Regions from separate parts of the Homo sapiens genome. Here region 1 is linked to region 2. The links are contacts of gene promoters, found by promoter capture Hi-C in blood cells and fetal thymus (Javierre and others, 2016). All regions are on one chromosome and are shown on one strand. The core of a region is centred on a gene start or on the middle of the fragment in contact, and the rest is flanking DNA. Distances in the headings are between cores, read along the strand shown.

Region 1 (3,151 bases), core at 159-2,658, 990 kb after region 2:
ACAGGGTGAGTCCTGGAGGCAGGTGGACATCCCTTCCACCCTAACGAGGGCAGGGAAGGGGTGCGATGGGGATCTGTAAATAGCAAGATGTCAACTGTCCCTATGCCATTGGAGAGCTCCTGTTTTCTCCCTGGAGCAGAAGGTGCCGCCATCAGCTGAGGGTGAGGCTGGGACAAGGGCCCAGTGAAGAAAGGCAGGCGGGGGCTGCCCTGCAGAGCAAAAGGACATGCTGGGCGGAGCACCAAGGAGCCCTTAGCAGTCACAGGCAACCACTCATAGTTTTCCCAGGCCTTTCTCCTGCAGATCTCGGTCTCCAGGTGGCAGCACAGAGGCGACAAGCTCCTGAGTCCTTCCAGGATTTTCTGCTGGGCAGGGAGCTGCAATTCTGATGAAAGATGGGATGAAATGGGGAGTGCGCGGGGCTGGAGGGAGGCGAAGGTAGGACTGAGAGCTCAAGGAACAGGAGGCTGCGGTCAGAGTCTGAGAGGACCGGCTGAGGGACCGACAGTGCTCGGTGATGGCAAGGTGCAGGGCACGGCCACGGGGCAGGCAGCTGTCTGGGGGAATGGGGTGACAACCCCTGAGAGGTTAAGGAGTGGCGGGCAGGTGGGTGGAAATAGAAGTCACTCAGGAGGAAGGCAGGACCTGAGCAGGGAGAAGAAATCTGGGAGGTGAATGCTCACGTCTGCCCTCAATGAGGGTGGGCAGGTGGGTGTCTGGGATGAGCTGGGGAGCATGGGGCCCACCCTGAGAGGGACAGAGGATCTTACCAGACGGCCAGGAAGGGGCTGGAACAGTCCAGGAAGCAGGGGGCCTTGACCCTACCTCCCACCTCTGATGCCCATGAGTGTGGGAGGAAGAGGGGACATGGTATCCCCAGAGGAGAACTGAGTTCCAGCATAGGGAAGAGAGAACAGCCTGCAGGGAGGAGCTGGATCCATCGGAGAACGCGATGGTCGTGGAATAAGGGTTCGCAAGGGTGATGGTTCAACAAGTGTTTATTGAGCAGCCACATCTGCCAGGTCTTGGGATAGCCAGTCCCTGTGCTCATGGGCTTAGATCCTGGCAGAGGCCTAGTGGAGAGGCTTGGGGTGGGGGTCGGGGCATGGAAGGCTGTGCTATTGGCCAGGGACTCAGAATACAGGAGAGTGCAAGGGTGACAGAAGTTTCTTTCTTGGGCAAAGAGGCCTGGAATGGTGGCTTGAATCTCAGCCATGCCTTAGCCTTCCCCTCTCAGCCAGAGAAGACCCAGGTCTCCCTGCCCAGAGGTCCATGCATAGCCATTCATTCGTTGATTCATTCCTTAACCAAGAATTAATGAGTGCTACTCTGTGCAGGGCCTGTAAGAGCATGGGCTGGAGGAGGCAGCTCAGGGGCCGGGCAGGGGTGTTGGCTGCAAGGTTACAAGAGAAGGGTAGCACTCTCAGAGGCCTGCTTGACGGGCGCCTGGGACTGGGCTGATGGGGGGCCTTTCTGGGGCACAGGGTGGTGGGAATGTAATTGGAGAGGCTTCCAGAGGCACTTGGACTTGAGAGGCCTCCATGGAGCCTCTGACAGAGTCCCCAGGGGGAACACCTGCTCCAAGAGTCTGGGCTCTGCTTTCCCCTGCCCCCACCACGGAAGACATGTCAAGCTGGGAAGCCATGGAGGAGAAGGGGAGGGCAAAAAAGTTGTTGAGCCACTGGGATAAATGGGAGGAGCCCCGGAGGGAGCGGCTGCGGGATCGCACAGCCCCTCGTATCCGGTGGGGTGGGCTGATGCCCCTTTGCAGCTGGGCAGGATGTTCCTGGGCATTGGCAGGATGGTTGAGGGGCCCTGTGATGGCAGGAGTGCTGGCTTGGACCACATGGGGAGACCAAGTCCGAATAGGGGCCCGATGCAATTGAGGGTGCAAGCGGAGGGCATGGCGAAGGCGGATGGCTCTCTGTGCTCTGTACAACAGGTAGCGGATCCCACGGTGGACGGCAGGGCGCTCCTGGTGATCAGGAGGCTCGCTGTGAGGCTCAGCATCGGGGGTGGCAGCCTGCTCAGCGGGCTGGTGGGGAGGCCAAGCTGGGGGGTGGTATGTGCCACAGGGCAGGCTGGAGGCTCCTTGTGCTCTCAGCAGAGACTGGACTGGCGAGGAGTGGGCTGGCGAGGAGTGGGCTGGCGAGGAGTGGGCTGGCGAGGACTGTGGCTCGGCGGTCTCCATGGGCTCCATGCACTTTCCAATACAGAACCTCAGACTGAGGGCTGGAAGAGACCTCAGGGGCCACCCAGTCCAACCTTTCACTCTATTCAGATCCCCTTTTCCCCTGGACAGGTGATAGTCCAGCCTCTAGTAATAAACCTCTAGGGACAGAAGGGTCACTACCCACGAGGCCACCTGTTTCACTGTGGAATGGATTTATATATCTTTCTACATGGATGGAGTCAAACCTCACTTGTTTGGCCCCTATATAGCTGCCCTGTGGCCTGACACCCCTTCACTGGCCCCCACTGGCTGTAATAAACCAAGGAATGGATTCTTGTCCAGCCCTCCTCACTGAGGACTTAGAGGACAGAAAATGCATAAGGAAGCTCCAGACAAAGGTCTTGGACATTCCAGAAAAGAGACAGGGCTCTGGACACATGCTATCAGCATTTCAGAAGAGCTCCTGGCCCTGGTGTAGTGGGAGGGCTGGGGTGGTCCAGGCATGCAGCTGTCATTTGGAGACTGTCCTCAGCACAGCTTGGGACTCAATGCCTCACTGGAAAATTCCCCAGGCGCAAGGCAAGTCTGAGAGTCACCTGCTGTGGCTGTGCCCCCTGGGACCTGAAATGGGGGGAGGCAGGAGTCCTGGGCTGAACTTCTGGGCCACTCACCGAGTTTTCGGCATCTGAGTCTTCCGAGCTGCTGATCACCACAACGCGTTCCTCTGAAACGGGGAAGGGGAGATGCATTATGAACTGCCTAGGATGCATGCTGGGAGGGGTGTGGGTGTGCACCTATGGGAATCCTTGCAGGCCAGTCGGCTGGGGGAAACGGATGCCCTGCAGGGGGACGGGAACAGCCACTGTGTGTGCCAATGTGACTCTGCTTTGCATTTGGATTTGAGTAATTCACAAATGGGTTTCCATAATTTCTTGCTGTGCCTTATCTATGAATATTCAATTAAGTTATCTGCCCAGA
Region 2 (3,220 bases), core at 193-2,692:
GCAGGAGGATCGCTTGAGCCTAGAAGGCTGCAGTGAGCCATGTTTGTGCCACTGCACTCCAGCCTGGGTGACAGAGAGAGACCATTTCAAAATATAATAATAGTACCACAAAAAAAAAAAAGTGTGTAGCTATTTACATAGCATTTACACTGTATCAGGTTTTATAAGTAATCTAGAGATTATTTAAATTATATGGAGGGCGTGGTGGCACGTGCCTGCAGTCCCAGCTACCTGGGAGGCTGAGGTGGGAGGATTATCTGAGCCCAGGGAGTTCGAAGATGCAGTGAGCTATGATTGCACCACTACACTCCAGCCTGGGAGACAAGAGTGAGACCCTGACTCAAAAAAAAAAAAAGAAAAGAAAAAAGAGTATACAGGAGGGTGATGTGGTGGCTCACACCTGTAATCCCAGCATTTTGAGAGGCCAAGGAAGGAGGATAGCTTGAGCCAGGAGTTTGAGACCAGCCTGGGCAACATGGTGAGACCCTGTCTCTACAAAAATGAAATAAAATAAAAATTAGCCGGGTATGGTTGTTTATGCCTGTGGTTCCAGCTACACAGGAGGCTGAGGCAGGAGGATCCCTTGAGCCCAGGAGGTCGAGGCTGCAGTGAGCCATGTTCCTGCCACTGCACTCCAGCCTGGGTCACAGAATGAGACCTTGTCTCAAAAAAAAAAAGTATACAGCAATCCCCTGCGGATACTGAGGGATAAATGTATCTAACACACACACTCACACACGTGGGCTACTAGAAAGGCAGTGACTGCGAATTGCTACTTCCCAGCCACTGTGAGAGATGTGGAAACCCCTGCTCCAGGACAACCACCACTTCCCCAACTTGGCAACCTCTCCTGCTCACCATCTAGCACCTGCTTCCAAATACTTCAAGGACAGCAGGAAGTTCTTTTCTGACAAGATTTGGCCTAATTTTTAAATAGCACTCAGCACTTTTTGGCAGGCCTAGGGCTACTTCCAACATCCCATGGCTTTCCTTTTTTAATTTTACCAACTTTTTAAATACACTTTGTACTTTGGGCAGCCCGGGTAAGCGTTCAGTGTGAGGAGCTGACACGGCCATCATTTAAACTAGATTAAACGACACTGGACAAATAATCGCAGAGCAGCACAAAGTCGGGCTGGACGGGTACAGATGCAAACCCTCCACTCAGGGCTCGGGGGTCCCTCCTGCTCCAGGCGGCCCCACCCGTACAGCCGGGAAAGTGAGGTCGCACAGATGGACGGCCGCCTACCCACGCACAGTCGCAAACAGAGCTTCATGGGCACACAGGGGAAAATAAGGACACACACAGACAGCCGTGGACCCACGCTCGCGGACACAGCTCCCCGAACCTCCCCTCCCGCGCCGCCGCGAGAACCCAGCTTCCCAGCCCCCTTCCACTGCTCACCCGCGCCAGGCGCGTCTCGGGGCCGCTCCCAAATATCGCGGTATCTCTGCCGCTCTCCCGCGGAATCTGACTGGCACGCCTCACGAGAGCACCGGGCTGGCTGTATGTCGCGCAGCCTTCTGGGAGCTGTAGTCCACTTCTCTGCCTTCCGGGAGTTGTAGTCCACTGGGGAAATCCTGGAGCAAACCCTGGCCCTGTTCTTTGTATTGCTGGGACTCTCGATAGGGGCTGGCATAACTGTCCGACCTCCTTTCCTCACTCCTATCAGCCCCACACACACTGCTTGTTGCTTGGGGCCTTTTTTTTTTTTTTTTTTTTTTTGCTGTTGTCCCAGGTTTATTGAAAATATTACAGTATCTCAAAAAGATTCAAACAGCTTCCACGTGGCGTTTTGAAATTCATCCCCACTGTTGGCTGAGTGACCTGCAGGTTGGACAGACTGCCAAAGTCCAAAAACATCAGCATTTCCTTAATGTCAGGATATGTTAATACTTCAATGATTTCCTGATCCAGGGCTGAGACCTCAGGAACATGATTATCTCTCCTTTCTCTCTTCTCCTCCTGCAACTTGATGCAGATACCTCTCACTGAGCGCTTCAAATCAGCTTCATCACATGCATGTTGTAGCCTGCTATCTTGTTGGGGAGCTGTTTTTTTTTTTGTTTTTTTTTTTTTTTTTGAGACAGGGTCTGGCTCTGTCACCCAGACTGGAGTGCGCAGTGGTGCTATCTCCACTCACTGCAACCTCCACCTTTTGGGCTTAAGCCATCCTCCTATCTCAGCCTATGGAGTAGCCAGGACTACAGGAGTGCACCATCATGCCAGACTAATGTTTGTATTTTTTGTAGAGACGGGTTCTCACTCTATTGCCCAGGCTGGTCTCAAACTCCTAGGCTCAAACAATCCGCCCACCTTGGCCTCCCAAAGTGCTGGGACTACAGGAGTGAGCCACCACGCTCGGCCCTGGGGAGCATTTTGCTGGAAATAATGGTGATCTCCTTGCACATGTGTTGTTTGTGTGGAAGTTGCTGCCCGGGTGTGTGTATTACTTTTTTATGACGAAGTATAGAAAAGGGCTATCTTCATGGTATTAGTGTGAATGGGGCCCATGTTGGCAGGTCCTTAGTAAAAGAGGGCTCGTGGCACTTAATATTTACCAAGCCTCTTCTATTTTAGGTGCACAGGATACAGAGATAAATCAGATGCGTCCCTGTTCTTGAGACAAACAGGGACACAGAAAATGACAGGGTAAGATCCTCCATGAGGAAGCAACACCTCTAGGCAGGAAAGCCTTCTTGAAGGAGTGACTTGAAATGAATCTTGAAGGACAGCCAGGAGGTTAGATAGAGGATCCCAATAGCGATCCAGGTGGAAGGCATCAAATGGGCAAAGGGAAGGCGGCAGAAGAACACACACTGGCATGCTTCCCTGCCCCCTTCATTTTCTAGCCTTCACAGGCCCCAGGAACCTCTGTATTCATTGAGGTGGCTGAACCAGCTGCGGGTCCCCTGCCCTGAGCTGAGGTGGGGCCTCTGCTCTACCCCCGCCCTTAGCCGCAGTGGACCATCTGGGCCAAACCATCCCTTACGCAGGGATCCAGCCGTGTCTTTTTTTTTTGAGATGGAGTCTTGCTGTGTCGCCCAGGCTGGAGTGCAGTGGTGCGATCTCGGCTCACTGCAAGCTCCGCCTCCTGTGTTCACGCCATTCTCCCGCCTCAGCCTCCCGAGTAGCTGGGACTACAGGTGCCTGCCACCTCGCCCGCCTAATTTTTTGTATTTTTAGTAGAGATGGGGTTTCACCGTGTTAGCCAGGATG

The links. The method cuts DNA at HindIII sites, captures the fragments that hold promoters and counts their contacts. A CHiCAGO score of 5 or more calls a contact.
Region 1: a fragment that was not itself captured here is called in contact with the fragment with the promoter of PPCDC in region 2 in 1 of 17 cell types (total CD4 T cells); the score reaches 5.6 in total CD4 T cells.

What each region holds. Positions count from the first base shown.
Region 1 is chr15:74,034,224-74,037,374 of GRCh38, reverse strand. It overlaps PML (PML nuclear body scaffold), which reads right to left. Exons shown (of 9, transcript NM_033238.3): 7 at 2,845-2,897. Among named protein-coding and RNA genes, the nearest start is that of PML, 41 kb to the right of the region's middle. RefSeq lists an enhancer at 1-284. The HindIII fragment of the contact is 8,663 bases long and covers 1-3,151 here.
Region 2 is chr15:75,021,812-75,025,031 of GRCh38, reverse strand. PPCDC (phosphopantothenoylcysteine decarboxylase) reads right to left here and starts at 1,442. Exons shown (of 6, transcript NM_021823.5): 1 at 1,406-1,442. The HindIII fragment of the contact is 7,713 bases long and covers 1-3,220 here.